Linked DNA regions of Homo sapiens: regions 1 and 3 are each linked to region 2. The links are contacts of gene promoters, found by promoter capture Hi-C in blood cells and fetal thymus (Javierre and others, 2016). All regions are on one chromosome and are shown on one strand. The core of a region is centred on a gene start or on the middle of the fragment in contact, and the rest is flanking DNA. Distances in the headings are between cores, read along the strand shown. Region 1 overlaps AHI1 (Abelson helper integration site 1). Region 2 holds the start of MAP7 (microtubule associated protein 7). Region 3 overlaps AHI1-DT (AHI1 divergent transcript).

Region 1 (2,922 bases), core at 26-2,525, 1.1 Mb before region 2:
TGTGGCTACCCTGCACTTGAAGTATGGCTAGCACAAATGTGAAAGTAAATTTTTAATTATATTTAATTTGAATTCAAACAGCCATGTGACTTGTAGCTACCAAAACAGTGTAACTCTAAGTTCGTAAATCTGGGAGAGTGGACAGATGGTGGTACCACCAATTGAAGTGGCAGAGAGAGTAGCACGGATACTCAGTTTGGAGGAATCTGACATATCTATAAGTCATCCAAGCTGAAATGTCCAGCAGGTGACTGAATTTACAAATCTGAAGCACAGGTGAGAAAAGTGGTTCCAAGAAAAGTGGGTTAAAGATGAAACCATGAGTAAGACTGATATTAAGGAGGTAGGTAGAAGACCATGAAGGAAACTCAAAGAATGGTATAAGAAAAATTAGGAGAGGATGGTGTCAAGAAAACCAAGGTAACAGAGTTTCAAGAGTGTGATATGTTAAATGCATAGATGTGACAAAATAACTAAAAAATGTTCAATATATTTAGCAAACAGAAATCACTAGTGATTTGGTTGGAGAAGCTTTAGTGGCAGAGGCAAAATTCAGAACGTTGTTCAGGAATGATAAGTTAAGGAATGATGCATCAACAAGGAAAAAGAGATGGCAAAATATAGCCCATCTTTTCCCCTACCCCTTTAGGAAAGAATGTAAAGACAATGGAGGTTATAAGCTGAGCGGGTGACATTGTGATTAGTGTCAAATGACACACAGGGGTAAAGAACCATTCCCAATTGAGTAATAGATATGTTCAGTCATTAAATCATAAGCACTCGAGACTCCCTTGATAAACTCTCCTACAGCTCCCCAAAGCTTATCACGGTAATTTTAAAAAGATATTCCCCAGCTTCTAAATCATACTTTCCATAGATTAATTTAAACAGGCAATTTAGTTTACATTAATACGTTGCTTAGCCTGAGTAAACAACTAAGATTCAGCCAAGACCCTGCCATTATGGTTATAAATTATATAATGTAGAGCTCAGATAAATAAGGCTTTATTACTTTTTAGTTTAAAAGAATAGCCACATATATGTACTAAAAGAACTGAAAGTACCTGAGAATCTGAGGCATAGCTGAGAATTAGGATAAAGTCTCATTTGAATTACTGTAATAACTTAACAATTATCCAAGACATCCCTCGTACCAACAGGATAGGTAATAAAAGATTTAAATTTTAATTGTCTTCATGCCACTTCCCTTTTTTTTTGAGATGGAGTCTCACTCTGTCACCCAGGCTGGAGTGCAGTGGTACAATCACAGGTCACTACAACTTCCATTCCCTGTGTCCAAGCAATCCTCCCCGCTCAGCCTCCCGAGTAGCTGGGATTACAGGTGCACACCACCACATCTGGCAAATTTTTGTATTTTTAGTAGAGACAGGGTTTCACCATATTGGCCAGGTTGGTCTCAAACTCCTGACCTCAAGTGATCGGCCCACCTCACCTCCCAGCGTGCTGGGATTACAGGAGTCAGCTACTGCATCCGTCATGCCACTTTCTTGAAGATGAATTTTATCCTTGCCACTCTTTCTATCATCAATGATTAATTCCCTCAATATATATTCACCAAACACTTTCTATGTGACATTAATATGCTGGGAGCTGGTGATATTATAGCATGGAGTTTCAAGAGAGTGACATATTAAATGCAAAAAGACCTAGTAAAATAAGGACTAAAAATGTTCAACATATTTACCCAAAAGAAGTCATTGGTGACTCTAAAAAGCTTACAGTCTAATGAAGAAGACAGGTAAGTGTTAGAAGACGTGAAGCACATAGAATACCTTACTCTTTCTGGGGGGTGGGGATGGGATAAGAATTCTTGACTGCCATTTTTGCCAATGGCATAAGATGAATAAATAAATAAAAATCCATATAGTACTTAGAGGTAGAAATGCCCTGAAATATGTTACTGCTTCCTAAGTGCAACTTACAGTAAATTCTGCAGGTCTGCACAAATCTTAGCATAAAAGAAATGCAGTTTCTAATAAAACCACACGATGGCACTGTTTACTATGTGAAAGTGAGTTTTTTGCTTTTTTTTTTTAATGGCTTTTTTTCTTTGCTCTAAATCAGTATGGAAGGTGTTATGGAAAAAGGCATTAACAGATTTATAAAAGGGTGATCATCGATAGCACACTGGACCAGGTGATTGCTAAGGCCACTCTCAAATTACTTACTCACCATAGCCAACCTGGTGGCTGTTCAGCCCTTTGACTATAAAACTTCTAAAATCTCTCTCTAACCTCCAATATGGATTAAATGTCTCAACTGGATTTTAACAGCATCTGTTCTATAGCACATAATAATGTAGGTAACAGGTCTGTATAGAAATTAAATTGGAGGGCAGCTATATACAATGTCTAATTTATCTATGAATGTACTGAATTTAGCAGACTGTCTCACATTTTATAGATCATATTTGTTGAATGAATGGATTCACAAATGAAAATGTTTTTATAAGATGGTACAAAATAATTACTCAAGACTTTTCATAATTTAAATTGATGTTTGAAGGAAAAGATAATTACAAAATTAAAATATCCTTTTTTAAACATCAATCTACGCCTTTCATCTTTGCTGAAACATCTCGTCAAAGACATCCTAGTCAGAGACACCTAGTCAAAGACAAATGTACAAAGACATTTTTTACCTAGACTACTGTTAAGAATTTCCTAATGTGATTTTCAAGTATCTACATTTGCTCCCTCTAGAATCTGTTCTCCACATAACAGAGTATATATCTTTCTAAAACACAAATCAGATTATTTTATTCTTTTGTTTAAAATCCCACAGTGGCTTCCCATTGCTCTTTAAATTCTATAATGGCTTCCTCTTGCTATAATGACTGAGAAGACCTCATCATAATTAACATCCCGTTGACCTTAGCAACCTCTTCATGCACCATTCTTC
Region 2 (3,203 bases), core at 24-2,523:
ACTGTTTCAGAGCTCTCTGGACCTTTCACGTTAAAATAAGCATACTTGATGGTGGGGAGACAGTGATTCTTACATTTAGGAAACAAATGCTTCCGATTGTGACCGTATGGAAGTGGAAAACAGCTTGCAATTGGAGAGTCTAAGAATTGAATTTCTTTTTAAAGTAAGAAACTGCCTCACTGCCCCCATCCCCAAGTGTAGGAAGATATAGAAACAGCTTACTGGCCAAGAATAGAAGAGGGAACCAGTGGAGAGGGACGGATTTGCAAGATAGCCTCTGGAGAAAAAAAAATCACGAGGGAGAAAAATCGGCTTCATACTATGGAGAGATGGGCGGGGTTGGGAAGCCTTGCTGCTGGTCTTGGGAAGCCTTGCTGCTGGTCTTGGGGACGTGATCCCCTGTCCCTAAGTGTGCCCCTGGAGGTTGTGGGGGAGGGGTATCCTCAACACAGAGGCCTGACCACCAAATCCCGGGCTGCAGAGCCAACAATCCTCCTTTGGGCTCCTGCACAGACTAAAAACAAAAAACTCTGAGAACTCCGACAAGTCAACGAAAGTCTGATCCCGTCAAGCCCGCACTCGCAAACCCCCACCGTGCTGCACTGGGCCCCGGCCCTCCCGAGCTCGGTCCCCTCGGACGACGGTCGTCGCCACTGCGGGCACCAGATTGGGGGGCGGGCCGCTCACCCCGCGGTCCTGCCCCACACCGACCCCGCTGAGGAGCCCCCGGCACCCGGGGCGACCAGGGAAGGCGGGAGGAGGTGCCCAGAAACTGCTCGTCCTGCCAGTCGCACCTGGCCGACGACTCTCTGGCCACTGGTTTGGTCTGGGGGATACGATTTCCCATTCAACTGAATTAGACCCGAGGCCGCGGCGGGGAGGGCAGCGGCCGGGGTCTCTCCGTTTCCTCCCCCGGCTCGCCTCCACCTGTTGCGGGAAAGTCGCGGTGGAGCGCCCGAGGGCGGCCGCAACCCCGGCCGGGGCCGAGCCGGGCTGGCCGAGCCGCGGCGGCGAAGGGCGGGGGAAGGCGCTCTCGGAGCAGGGTGCGCGGCGCGCAGGGCCGGTTGTTCCGGGCCGCGGCCGCGCGGGCGGGGAGGGGGCTGCCGGCGCCGGGTGATTTCGGTGCCAGCCCGCCGGCCCCGCTCGCCGTCCCCTGCCCGACGGGACCCCCACTATCCCCGCTGTGCGGTCACCTGTTTCGCTTCGCACTGCGCCGTCGCCGCCCCTGTGGCCGTCGCCGCCAGCTCCTAGCTCCGCCATGGTGCTCCGATGACGCGCCCGGAGAGCCGCTCCGCCCTTTCCTCGGCTTGGCTCCCGCCGGCCCCCGCCTCCCAGGCCAGCGGCCCAGACAGGTGAGCGCAGTCCGGGGATGGCGGAGGGCGGGGACAGAGAGCGCGGCAGTCGGCTGCGGCCTGGGCCTGGCGCGCCCCCTCGCGGGCAGGTGCGGCGTGGCAGCCGCTCCGACCGCCGCTGCCGAGTCTCGGCTGGAAGAGCGGCGGGCGGAACCAGTACCTCAGTCCGGAGCTTCCGGTCGCCGCGGCCGACCAGCTGAGGGCTCCCGGAGATATGGAGCGGGGTCAGCGAGGCCTGGTGGCGCCTCCTGGAGTCTGGGACGAGCGGCGGTCCGAGGAGCAGCCCAGGTGGGGCGAGGGTACGGAGACGCTATTTCCCTCCGAACTCTGAAGTAGCCAGGTCAGTGTCGGCTCCGCGAGGGCTGGAGTTCACGGTGACAGCCGGCAGAGCATCTGATGCCACGTGGAGAGGCGAAGTACATGGGTCGGATTCCACGCTGGGAGCCGGCCTGGATCTGCGCTTTAGGAAGCCACTGCGGGCGACCCTATCTTGTCGCCAGGACTTCGCATCTGATGAGCCTCAGGGCACACAAGTTAGAGAGGCTTGTGCCGGCTGATGTGGCTTTTCTTTTTCTTAGTTTCCGTTTAGTAAACGACCTTGTGACTTCTGGCTTGCTCAGGAAGACCAGAAAAAAAGGCAATAGGTAACGAATTTTTCTTTTTTTAAAGAAACAGATTATTGGCCGAGGAAAAACCAATTTCGCTCTAAAGGATAAGCAACAAAATACTGAGGGGGGAAAAAGCCTACACAAATGGAAACATACGGCACAAAATCAAGGAGCGACCAGTTCCGCATGGTTACACTAAAATGCACTGCACTCCCACTCTCTGGCTTGGCTGAAGATAACCAGCAAGCTCTGAACAGTTTAAAAGCCTTCCAAGGACTGCAGCAGCACTGGACACACAAGAGAGTCGAGAACAGTATTGGATTTATTGTTAGGGTTACAATTTTCACGATCTTTGCATGCAAAACTTGCCACTCTGAGCCCAGTGAACTATTTTTATTTGGTTTACTTACTGGCTTTCTGGATGACTAGGTAGAGCTTTAACTAAAGAACACTTCTGCTGTGGTCTGTGATGATGAATTTTCCCGTAGTGTCATTTCTATAATGGAATAGGCAAACTGACCATTTAGAATGTGATATTCCTAAATCACATTCAAATCAGTCTTATCAGAGACTTCTAATCAATAAAAATAAAGCACCAGATGGCTAGAGGTAGTTTTTGACCTCAGCTTGGGCCTCAGCAAAGATTTTTTGTGTTTTTTTTAACTACATTAAAACATCAGAGTTTAAGACACTTTTCTTTGAGCATCAGAAATACTCTCAGCTGAATTTAGAGTTGAACTATCCGGAAGAACCCTGGAGAAGGAGGGTGATTTATTTTCAACTTTCTGATTTACCACCGACTTAAATCAACCAATGAGTTCTTTCTTTGACCAAAAAAAAAAAAAAAAAAAAAAAAAAAAAAAAAAAAATTCAAGACTTGTGATGTTTCTATTTGTTTTGTTTTGTTTAGTTTGGTGTGTGCTTACTCATTGTCCCATTCTTTTGATAACCTGTATTTATCTGCCACAAGTTAAACAAAAATAAATGAAATAAGGAACACACCAAAATCCTGCACTTAGGCCCTGTATAGACAGTGTGTTCCAAACCTAAGGAGGTGTCTGCAACAGGGGAGGCTGCTGAGTGACTCTGCAGAGAACAGATGACATCTGTTAAATGTCAAACACCATCACGTCGTACTTCAAGTTGTACTTTACTTGGAACATGGAAGCCATCTGTCTGGAGCTCCCACATCCATTTCAAATCTTCAGGGTTCCCCATTCCAGGGGAGGAGCTGAACCTCCTG
Region 3 (3,025 bases), core at 5-2,504, 1.0 Mb before region 2:
TTTGCTTTAAAATATTCTAGATTTTTTTAAAAGGTGAGAGGAAATGACACATGTATATCTAAATTTTGATGGTTGTTGAAGCTGGCTGGTAGGTACCTAGTATTTCATTATACTTTTTCCTTTGTGTGTTTGGAAATTTTTATAATAAGCAGGAAAAATAAAAGTAAGAATATATGTATTATAGATAATTTGAAATATGTAGAATCATGAAAAAAAGGAAAAAATACTCAATACCACTACCCAAGAGAATCTAAATTAACTTTTTTGACAAATTTCGTTTCAGTCTGTTTTCCATGCGTATTTTAATTTTGGTCATGTTGTGTGTAAAATGTTTATTTCTGCTTACTTGAATGAACATTATGTTGCAATTTCATTTCCATGCTATTACAATAGTGCCCCCTTAACCATGGTTTTGCTTTCTGAGGTTTCACTCAACAAGCTTGGTTTGAAAATTTTTAGAGAGAAAATAAGAGATTACATTTACATAATAACTATTAATACAGTATATTGTTATAAAAACTTTATATTGTTATTAGTTATTGCTGTTAATCTCTTACTGGGCCTAATTTATAAATTAAACTTTATGAGAGGTGTGAAAGTTGATTATAGAAATTGGGTCATTCTTGTTGTACCCAACTAAATCAGAGTGAAGGGCCCAGGGGAAAAAGCATTTGGGGCATATAGCATCTGCTCCAAGAATTAAATTTTCCACAAGCCCAGCTACTGAAACTGCCTGTTGTAATCTGAAATCAGTTTTATCTGATAGCTAATGAAATAACCTGCTGTGACACTAAGATTAGTTTTACCCACTGCCATCACTCGCCAATCAGAGCTCGCCAGCTCCCCAAATGTTACCCATTGTTTCTTTGCAAAACAATGGGTAACATTTTTCCTTTTTATAAAACCTCCAACCTGATCTTTGTTTTTCAGACATACTGAAGACCACCCATTCTGTGTGTTTGCCTGGAAATGCAATTCTCATTTCCCAAATAAAATGTTTGAAATGTGGAAATTTGACTCTATGTTTTATTTGACTTTGAGAAAGGCATGCAAGTATAGTAAATACAGGCTTTGCTACTACCTGTAGTTTCAGACATCCACTGGGGATCTTGGAACATATCCCATGCAGATAAGAAGGAGATGCTGTATATATCACCACTTAATCATCACTGGAAATTCTAACTTTGTTAGTAATGTTCTTATGTGCACGTGGAAAAATTTCAAACAATCGTTCAGATATTTATAATGTGGTAACCGAAAGTCAGCCGTGTTTTTAATCACTGATCAGTCTTCTATACATTCTTTCATACTTCCATTCATACATATACTAAATATACTAAATTATAAAGATAACTTCTTACCATAGATTTTGTCCTGTCATCTTGTTTTTGTCCTTTATCAAGTATTATTATTTCTAAAAGGCTTTTTATGTCAGTAACATATATCTACCCCATTCATTTTAATGGCTTTATGCTATATCACTTCTAATCCAAAGTGTTTTTAAGCAATTATAGTGAAAGTGTCAAAAGGTGATATGGTGGCTTTTAAAAAATAAGATACTTTTCTTATAAGTCTCTCATATTATTATTTATTCCTCAGCATTTTATAGATTTTTGGTGCTATTTTGAATGCATCCAATTCTTATTACATTTTCTAACCGGTGATTGCACATTTTCCTGCTTTTCCTCTTTCTAGGGCTCCTTTACTAGTTCATGCCTATCACCTTGACCTCTTGATATTGGAATGTCCCAGAGGTATGTTCCTGGACTTCTCTATCTACACGTACTCACTCAGTGATTTCTTACAGTTCTATAGTCCCACTGTCATGTAGACTACTCCCAAATATATCCCTTCTGCCCATTATTCTTCCTTGAACTTCAGACTCATAAATCTAACTGTATATTACATGTCTCCACTTAGATGTCCGACATATTCTCAAACTTAACTTTTCTAACACTGAATTCCTCATCTGCCTCCTCAAATCCCCACTTTCTCCATCTCAAGCAATGACAACTCCATTCTTCCAGTTACTCAAGCCAAACACCAAATACATTGGAGTAACTGTTAAATCAAGCTTAGCCTAAAACTACCTCCTTACATATTTTAAATTCAGCCTAAATGTTTCTTTGTACATCTTAAACTATAACAAGTAGAAGTGTAACCAGATGTAGCCTACACTTGGGCCAATCACCAAGTTTTGGCCAATCAAATGTCGTCAACTATTCAAACCATGTTTAAATAAGGCAAACACAAAGCTGTAACCAATCCAGCTGGTTCTGTACCTCACTTCCATTTTCTGTGCCTCACTCCTTTTTCTGTCCATAAATCTTCCAGCACATGGCTGCGCTGGAGTCTCCGAGCCTACTCTGTCTGGGAAGGCTGTCTGATTTGCAAATCATTCACTGCTCAATTAAATTCCTTTAAATTTAATTCAGTTAAAGTTTTTCTTTTATCATAACCTTTGACCTTTCTCCTTTTCTTATACCCCATATCCAACCTATCAGATTACTATAGGTTCGAACCCAAATCCTATGAAACAGAGGATATGGTTATAATTTTGAGGGAAGATTTTTTTTTTCTCTACCTGAACTTTAGCCCCTACAAACAAACTTCCTTGTTTATCTTTGCTGCTGTAATCTTTTAAGGGTTCCACTTTTATGCAAACATCTTAGTTCTCACACTGAGCAAGGCCTTGAATCCTATGCTTTGGGAGGCCATTGCATTCTAAGACTACATTCCTGGCATCAGCAAGTGCCCCTCTAGTAAAAATGCCCTCAGCCCCTACTTTCCACTCTTGTTTTAGTTCTTTCTTCTCTTTGGCCCCCGAGGAATTCAATGATGCAATTTAGTCAGCATTTCTAGCTGGTTTTCAGGTTTTTTTTTTTTTTTTCAGAGTATCTTTGTGACATATTGGGAAAAGAGGAATTCCTTCTCTCTCAACTGTTAATACATGTTGAAAGGAATTTTATGAGTAATAGTAATGGCTTTGTAATAGTGATTGTTACTCAAATTTAGCAGATGACTT

The links. Contacts are between HindIII fragments. The CHiCAGO score rates a contact against its expected background, and 5 or more counts as called.
Region 1: a fragment that was not itself captured here is called in contact with the fragment with the promoter of MAP7 in region 2 in 1 of 17 cell types (fetal thymus); the score reaches 6.7 in fetal thymus.
Region 3: a fragment that was not itself captured here is called in contact with the fragment with the promoter of MAP7 in region 2 in 6 of 17 cell types (M0 macrophages, megakaryocytes, M1 macrophages and 3 more); the score reaches 10.2 in M0 macrophages.

The regions. Positions count from the first base shown.
Region 1 is chr6:135,449,798-135,452,719 of GRCh38, forward strand. The region is part of intron 11 of AHI1 (Abelson helper integration site 1); the gene reads right to left. Among named protein-coding and RNA genes, the nearest start is that of AHI1, 46 kb to the right of the region's middle. The HindIII fragment of the contact is 915 bases long and covers 819-1,733 here.
Region 2 is chr6:136,549,149-136,552,351 of GRCh38, forward strand. MAP7 (microtubule associated protein 7) reads right to left here and starts at 1,274. Exons shown (of 18, transcript NM_003980.6): 1 at 1,194-1,274. The coding sequence starts at 1,260. It overlaps MAP7-AS1 (MAP7 antisense RNA 1), which reads right to left. Exons shown (of 1, transcript NR_186370.1): 1 at 1,575-3,203. RefSeq lists enhancers at 110-648, 1,187-1,724 and silencers at 946-995, 1,006-1,185, 1,226-1,575. The HindIII fragment of the contact is 6,247 bases long and covers 1-3,203 here.
Region 3 is chr6:135,503,121-135,506,145 of GRCh38, forward strand. All of the region lies in intron 2 of AHI1-DT (AHI1 divergent transcript), which reads left to right. Among named protein-coding and RNA genes, the nearest start is that of AHI1-DT, 6.8 kb to the left of the region's middle. The HindIII fragment of the contact is 1,635 bases long and covers 438-2,072 here.